Regions from separate parts of the Homo sapiens genome. Here all the other regions are linked to region 2. Evidence: promoter capture Hi-C in 16 types of primary human blood cells and fetal thymus (Javierre and others, 2016). All regions are on one chromosome and are shown on one strand. Each heading gives the region's core, a stretch centred on a gene start or on the middle of the fragment in contact. The rest is flanking DNA. Distances are from core to core; before and after follow the strand shown.

Evidence for each region. Contacts are between HindIII fragments. The CHiCAGO score rates a contact against its expected background, and 5 or more counts as called.
Region 1: a contact is called between a fragment that was not itself captured here and the fragment with the promoter of SETX in region 2, in 1 of 17 cell types (monocytes). The highest score is 8.4, in monocytes.
Region 3: a fragment that was not itself captured here is called in contact with the fragment with the promoter of SETX in region 2 in 1 of 17 cell types (M2 macrophages); the score reaches 5.4 in M2 macrophages.

Annotation. Positions count from the first base shown.
Region 1 is chr9:131,140,701-131,143,400 of GRCh38, forward strand. NUP214 (nucleoporin 214) reads left to right here. Exons shown (of 36, transcript NM_005085.4): 11 at 1-10. Among named protein-coding and RNA genes, the nearest start is that of NUP214, 16 kb to the left of the region's middle. The HindIII fragment of the contact is 2,492 bases long and covers 195-2,686 here.
Region 2 is chr9:132,353,724-132,356,476 of GRCh38, forward strand. SETX (senataxin) reads right to left here and starts at 1,263. Exons shown (of 26, transcript NM_015046.7): 1 at 1,194-1,263; 2 at 1-32. RefSeq lists enhancers at 527-1,028, 848-2,047, 1,029-1,528 and silencers at 913-1,122, 1,173-1,562. The HindIII fragment of the contact is 16,783 bases long and covers 1-2,753 here.
Region 3 is chr9:131,162,465-131,165,189 of GRCh38, forward strand. It overlaps NUP214 (nucleoporin 214), which reads left to right. Exons shown (of 36, transcript NM_005085.4): 19 at 527-709; 20 at 1,406-1,491; 21 at 1,597-1,680. Among named protein-coding and RNA genes, the nearest start is that of NUP214, 38 kb to the left of the region's middle. The HindIII fragment of the contact is 3,479 bases long and covers 1-2,725 here.

The sequences.
Region 1 (2,700 bases), core at 191-2,690, 1.2 Mb before region 2:
AAGTCACCAGGTATGTGCCTCTGCCTGCTTTATCAGTAAGGGAATACCATGGGCTTGCACAAGAGTATTTCCAAGAATGAACATGGTGTGAAGACACATAGTGATTATCTTTACCAGCCTGGTCTGTCTTAGGAAGGCACACACTAATCTTTTTTTTAAACATGCATGTACATATTTGCCTTCCCCTACCCTCAAGCTTTATTCTGCAGCCATTACTTTACTTCGGAGATGAAGGAAGGTCAACCAGATGATTTGCATCCAGTCGTTTACCAACAGTTTTCTAAGACCCTATATTATGTGATGTGCATCCAAAAGACATTGTGCTTAATCATGGGGGTTGGTTAAAGAAATGATTGTATAGTCTTACAGTGAAATGCCATGTACCAATTATAAATGTTATATTTATTGACAGGGAAGGAGTGAGTGGAATACATCACCAAAAAAAAAAAAACCACTATTCTTTGTGATCTTTTCTGTATGAGAAAAAACATATACATAGAAAAACAACTTGGAGATGGATTTAAAGTCTAAATGGTGGTTATTTCTGGGTGATGGGAACATGGAGATTTTTGTTTATATTTTCTTGACTTTTTTTCTCCTTTTTGAAACATTTCTTAAGTAATAGATGTTTATTGAAGGAAAATGAGAGCATGCAAAACAATGGCCACAGTCAACATTTTGGTACCTATCCTCCATGAAAATGAATGCACACATATAAATACTAGTCTGTATTTAAACAATTTTTACAGTGACATTTGTATCACTTGTGAAAAGAAACTTTTTTTTTTTTTTTTTTTTGTGGAGACAGGGTCTTACTCTGTTGCCTAGGTTGGAGTGCAGTGGCATGACCACAGCTCACTGTAGCCCTAATCTCCCAGGCTCAGGCAGTCACCTAAGCCTCCCAAGTAGCTGGAACTACAAGCATGCGCCACCATATGCAGCTATTTTTTAAATGTTTTGTAGAGATAGGGTCTTACTGTGTTGCTCAGGCTGGTCTCAAACACCTGGGCTCATGTGATTCTTCTGCTTCAGCCTCCCAAAGTGCTGGGATTATACGCATGATACACTGTGCATGACCAGAAAATATAAAACTTTTAAAAAGAGCATTGTTTCATATGTTGGAATTTGACTAATATTTCTCTTTTTGAATTCTGTGAGTATATAACTGATACAATTTTTTTCTTCTATTATGACCAGTTTCTTACCTAAGCAAAAATGTATGACCAGTTGGTTTGTATAAGGTTAGCAATAACTTAGGGGTATATTCTCTTCCTGCATCCCAGTGCACAGTGAGTTGTATATCACAAATAGAGCCACTCAGATACTTGGGCCCTAACAACTGGCAGCACTACCCCAAGTGATATACCAGATGGCTTGCAGAGTGTTGTATCAGGGTAGTCCATTATTCATAGTGTGTGTACTCTTTGTGTTGTTTTTTTTTCCTCCTTATTCAGCCATGAATAAGGGTACCATGAACTACCTATACCCAGCTGCCTGGTGTGTCTGTAATAAGCAGAGCAGCCTGTGAGATTAGGAGCCTCTGGGATGGGACGAGGTTTGTTTCTGAGCCTTTGCTACTAGCCCATTCAATGCTGGAGCACAATCAGAGGCCAGTTTTACTGTTAGCCTTTCCTAGAGAAACTCCCCTCTTCCTTCACAGTTGGTCCAGAGGTTATAGTTGTGTTCAGATGTGTAGAAGAGAGCCCCTGCGGGGAGAAAGTCCGTCCCATCAGCTAAGTCTAGCTAAAGCCTACTTCATGGGTTCAGAAGACATTAATGGTTCCACCTGTTTCTACACTGCAGTTCTAAGGATGCTGTATTGATCAGAAGTAGTAGTAGCATGATGGTTTTCCAATAATCAGTTCTGTTTTCAGTGGAAAAAATGCTTTTGATTTATTTAGGGTCTGGTATATATTTTTCATGTCAGTTTACCTAATATGCATGAAAGTGTTTTAACATCTATGTATGTCTTTACAGAAGTTAGTTGTAGCTGGTTCCATATCTATTGTATAAAGAAGTATTAACAGAATAGGTTTGCTTGCATTATTATACTTTCATCAATGTGACAGTTTACTTGGATTTTTGTTTTCAGAAAGTGGTATTTTCATACTTGTATCTAAGTATTACGTTGCATTAGACAAAGTGTCTTCCATGAAGATAAACTGCCATCTTAGCTAATTTGGAACAACCAAGTCCTATTAATATAAATAGAAAATATTGACACAAAGAATTCTTTTCTTATTTAGTTGGTTATTTAATTTAAAGATTAATATTTTTACCTTATGGAAAGTTTGGAAAATAGAAAAAAAAATTATTCATTTTTGAGACAGGGGTCTCACTCTGTTGTGCAGGCTGGAGTGTAGTGGCAGGATCTTGGCTCACTGCAGCCTCTGTCTCCCAAGTCCAAGCGATCCTCCCACCTCAGCCTCCCAAGTAGCTGGGACTACAGGCACAAGCCATCACACCTGGCTGATTTTTGTATTTTTTTTGTAGCAACAGGGTCTCACTTTGTTCCCCAGGCTGGTCTCAAACTCCTGGACTCAAAGGGTCCTCCTGCTTTGCCCTCCCAAAGCTCTGGGATTACAGGCATGAGCCACTGCGCCCAGCCTTCCATTGACTTTTTTTTTTCTTTTTAACCATTTGGATTGCATTAAATATCTTTTTCATTTTTTGCATTATGTTTGTAAGCTTTATTCTTAG
Region 2 (2,753 bases), core at 13-2,512:
TATGCCCAGACTCTGGCCCCAAAAGAACATTTCTGAAATTAAAAAACAAAAAACGAAATTGGTAAGTGGCATTTATACTCTATATCCCATCTGAGCCTGGTATCGATCCTATTACAGACAGATACTGCTGGCTGATGAGGAAGCCCAGATAGGTTAGACAACTTGGCTGTGGACTTCCAGGAAACAGCAGAACTGCAATTCTGACTCCCAGTTCCACAAGGGGCTGTCCCCACTCACGGGGACAGCTAGGCACCGAGCCAAAAATCCCCCAAGTTATTAGCCCGCGCAGGTAACATCAATCCTAGGATCCTCAGCTGTGTCACTTATCAAATACCACACTCGGCCTTCTCCTTGTGGAGCTCTTTTCCCTCAAGGCAGTCACCCCCGTTTCACTTGGGTCGTGCAAATTGCTGGGCACATCCTTAGATCCCCAGAAGTTGGGGAGGACGGACAAAGTCCTGTGGCCAGCAGCAAAAGCTCCAGCCCCTCCAAGTGGGAGAAACAGACTCTCCTCCAAACGAAGGGACCGGCCGGGCGCGGCGGCTCGGAGGATCCCTGGAGCAGCTGAGCTCAGCCTGGGAAACACAGCCAGGCCCTGTCTCTGCAACACATTTTGTTTTTAATTAGCCGGGCGTGGTGACGCGCGCCTATGGTCCCAGTTACTCGGGGGGATGAGGCGGAAGGATCGCTGGAGCCCAGGAAGACGAGGTTGCTGCGAGCCGTGACTGTTCCACTGCACTTCAGCCTGGGTGACAGAGCGAGACCCCGTCTCAAAAAAAAAAAAAAAAGAAAAAAGAAAAAAAAACAAAGGGAGGGACTCCAGGCGAGAGGCAGACGAGCGTGTGGAGGGAACCGACACTTTCCACCCCGAGACCTCCCGCTCAGCCCCAAGGAAACTACGCAGTATCCACACCAAAAACAGCTCACACGAGACCGCAGTGTAGACAACGGAAGGACAGGGGGTCGCAGCGGCCGGGTCCAGCGCGCAGGAAGGCAACAGGCGGCCGCCAGCCGTCGAGGGGTGCTCCCGCCCCCGCACCGAGGGAAGCGGCCGAGCCCGCGCCGACTCTTCCCCCATCCGCCCACCGGGACCTAGGCGCCGCGATGGTTCCCCGAAGCGGCCCTGCAAGCACAAGCCGCGCCTGCGCTCACGCCCGCCCGACCTACGGCCTCCAGCCCGCCGCTACCCTCACCGCTCTCTGGCTGGCGTCGGCCTCTAGCCCACCTCCATACCGGGCCCCGCTCTAGGCCACCAGCGGAAGTGCGGGCCCGCAGCCGCAGCTACCAACCAGCTGTTGCCGCGAGGTAGGCCCCGCCCCCGCGCTGAGTCGGCCGGCCGCAGGCCCCGCCCCGGCCGCTGCTTTCTGGTTTTGGTGCCCCCCAGGGGGCGGGGCATGGGAAGAGCGGCCGCGGTGCACCGCCCACGCCGGGCGCTGGCGTCACGTCCGGGCAGCTGGGGCCCGACCAATCCCGAGTCCCCGTCAGGGTGGACGGGGAGAGTTTGCCGCGGAACCTTGACCTCGGCCCCGCCCGGGGCTTCCTGCGGGTGGGGCGGCTCCGGGATGAGCTCTGCTGCGGGTGGGGTCAGCCCTTACCCGCTGGCCATTTCCGTTCCCTCTTTTTTCTTCTTTTTTCCACGCCTCAGGTGTCTCAGCGGATGTACTACGGTGACGAAGTAATTTTTCTCTTTAGATTTCCTTTAAAGACCTGAAATGTAAATTACATAAACGTGTAATTTCGGAGGAATATGTGTATATCCTTTATATTACAAGAAAGGGAGACCTTAGGTCTTGCGAACAATGCGCGCGATGCGCAACACAGCAGAGTAAATCCCTCGCTGGTGCGGTGGCTCCCGCTTCTAATCCCACCACTTTGGGAGGCCCAGGCGGGAGGCTCGCTTGAGCCCGGAGTTCAGAGACCAGCCTGTGCAACATAGCGAGACACCCGTATGTACAAAAAAAAATTAAAACTCAGCCACCGAGGCCGGGCGCGGTGGCTCACGCCTGTAATCCCAGCACTTTGGGAGGCCGAGGCGGGTGGATCACCTGAGGTCAGGAGTTCGAGACCAGCCTGACCAACATGGTGAAACTCCGTCTCTACTAAAAATAAAAAGATTACCTGGGCGTGGTGGCGGGTGCCTGTAATCCCAGCTACTCAGGAGGCTGAGGCATGAGAATGGCTTGAACCCGGGAGGCAGAGGTTGCAGTGAGCCGAGATCGCACCACTGCACTCCAGCCTGGGCAAAGGAGCGAGACTCTCTCTCCGGAAAAAAAAAAAAAAAAAAAAAAATTAGCACCTGTGGGCCCAGCTTGTTGGGAGGCTGAGGCAGGGGGTGGATATCCATTGAGACCGGGAGATCGAGACTGCAGTGAGCCGTGACTGTGCCACTACACTCCAGGCTGGGGAACAAAGCAAGACCCTGTCTCAGAAAAGTCTATAAATAAATAAAAATGAGTAAAATCCACTGGAAAGCCTATCCCCCCCCTTTTTTGTTTTTGAGATGGAGTCGCGCTCTGTCACCCAAGCTGAAGTGCAGTGGCGCAGTCTCGGCTCACTGCAACCTCCGCCTCCTGGGTTCAAATGATTCTCCTGCATCAGCCTCCCGAGTAGCTGGGAGTACAGGCGTGTGCCACACGCCCGGCTAATGTTCATGTTTTTAGTAGAGATGGGGTTTCACCATGTTGGCCAGGATGGTCTCAAACTCCAACCTCAAGTGATCCGCCCCGCCTCGACCTCCCAAAGTGCTGGGATTA
Region 3 (2,725 bases), core at 50-2,549, 1.2 Mb before region 2:
GAGGCAGCTACTGTTGTCTCTGTCTTGTTTTAGTTCTTTTGGGCAGGTTACCTTCCTGATGCTAAATCTTATGCTGTCCCCCTATTTCTTGACAATAGTCTGAAGAATTAACTGACTCCCATAGACTTCCAGTGAACCTTTTTTTTTTAATTGAATATAATTTACATTCAGAAAAACAGATAAATTCTAAGTAGAAAGCTGACTGGCTTTTTCCTGGTTCCTGACTCACACCTCACTCCTGCCCTTTTCTTCCCAGGGCCTCTCTCAGGTTTCACCTAATGTATGCTGTCCTTTGCTACAGGACTGGCCTGCCTGTTTCCAGCTGTTTTCTCCACATTCCATTTTATCTTCATTAGGCTTTCATCTCCTTTTTATTTTCTAGTAATTTCTTAATGGTTCTTGTCCAGTGCTGGTTCTCCATTTTATCATTTTCACTGTTACCATTGTAGTCTTGTTTGTTTTTTTACTGGGAGATTCCTTTACTTGAACCATTCATGTTTAATTCTTTTCTCATTGTTGTCAACAGGCACCTGCTTGTGCCAGAGCGAGAGACACTGTTTAACACCCTAGCCAACAATCGGGAAATCATCAACCAACAGAGGAAGAGGCTGAATCACCTGGTGGATAGTCTTCAGCAGCTCCGCCTTTACAAACAGACTTCCCTGTGGAGCCTGTCCTCGGCTGTTCCTTCCCAGAGCAGCATTCACAGGTGTGGAGAGGACTTGCACTCAATAAATATGGGTGAATGAATGCATGAACATTTAGGGAGTCTTAGAGTGGTTCAGATATGGGTTTGCAAGTGACTCTGTGTCTCTCACCTGTGTAATCCTGGTCAGGGTCCCACCCTCTCTGATCCTTTGTTTCTTTGCCTAAAAAATGAGGATGACAATACCTGCTTCGTGGGATTGTTGGAGAGTTAAATTAAGTCTGTAAAATATTACACTGATGAAATGGGTGCTGAATATATCATAGCAAGTGATACACCATAGTAACAGTGTCATGGTTTGATTGAAAATCAGCTGATAGGATTAAGTTGACTGACTTGTTTCTGAAGCCCAGATTTGCCATTCTGCTTGAATGGGGGGACTTTCAGACCCTGGCAGATTGACAGTTTGCCTTGAGTTTACCAAAATGGTTTTGTGTTTATGCTTTTAGGCCAAATGTATAAATTTTAATTACTTTTTCTACTGAGGCACCATCATGTTGTGTTTGAGGTGGAGATGGTATATAATATGATTGTGATCTCACTTCTTTTAGATTAATTCCATCAGTTGGTCAGATGGCATGTTTATATATTGGGGATATTCTCATGTCTTGCATTTATATTTAAGAGGATAGTGTACCCCCGACAGCCTCCGATCTTTCAGCTCCTAGTTGGTCTGTATCTAACACTGTTCTGTTTCAGTTTTGACAGTGACCTGGAAAGCCTGTGCAATGCTTTGTTGAAAACCACCATAGAATCTCACACCAAATCCTTGCCCAAAGTACCAGGTAATTGCATCCTTCCCAGTCTTTTAACTCCCTTTATTCTCTTCCAAGTACTGATATCTTAAAAACTGAGTCTTAATCATTTATGGGTTTATGGATTTCTTGCAGCCAAACTGTCCCCCATGAAACAGGCACAACTGAGAAACTTCTTGGCCAAGAGGAAGACCCCACCAGTGAGATCCACTGCTCCAGGTAAAGAGAACCAGTAACTGGGCCTGTACATAGTGATAGGGTGTGGTGGGGTGTGTGTGTGTGCGCGCGCACATGCACGTGTGCATGTGTGAGCTAGGGTGCTGTGTATGTGTGTGTAAGTGTGTGTGTGTTGGTTCTTAATAGGGGATAGAGAAAATGTCTCCAGAATCTGTTGTTAATCTGAATAGTGGAATAAGAACCAGCTTATATATACTTGATGAAGCAGCAAAGTAGTCGTTTTGGCTTTTACACTGTTTTCTGCAGTCCTCAAGTTTTATGGCACTGATTCACAAGGGTTTGAGATAGGCTGAGCTGGATCCTAGCCTCTGCTTTAGCCAGAGAAGGTTTACTTTTCTGATTTGTGTTGGGTTTTGAGTAAGTTTGCATCTGGGAAAAAGGCATTTTAAAAAATAAATAAATAATAGAAAAAAATAAAAGACGAGGTCTCCCCATGTTGCCCAGGCTGTTCTCAAACTCCTGGGTTCAAGTTATCCTCCTGCCTCAGCCTCCCAGAGTGCTGGGATTACAGGTATGAGCCACTGTGCCTTGCCGAAAAAGGCTTCTTTTATGAAAAAAGAAGAAAAAAATAAGATTAAGCAATGTTGATTAAAAATACTTACTTAAAAATACTTGCTTAAAGAAGCCATAAATTTTTTTCCCATTACATTACCTAGATAATAACTTCAATTTAAAGAAAAATTTGTGACAATTTTAGGCATAACTGCTTTGTTTTAGTATCCATATCCAAATTTTTCTTTGAGATTCTGTTTTCAGTTAAAATTTTTTTATGCCAATAACAAATGCTTTTGGTAATCAGAATAACTGAAAGAAATTTAATCTTACTGATTTATTTTTCTGTACTCACATAGAGCTAAATTAGATAAATAATAGTCACAGACAAGTTAATTTTCAAATAATTTTTCTTTACCTAAAGAATACATTCTCTTGGTAGGTAATTGGGAAAAATATGGAAAGTATAAAGGAGAATAAAAAATATTAGCTGAGTGCGGTGGCATGCACCTGTAATCTTAGCTCTTCAGGTGGC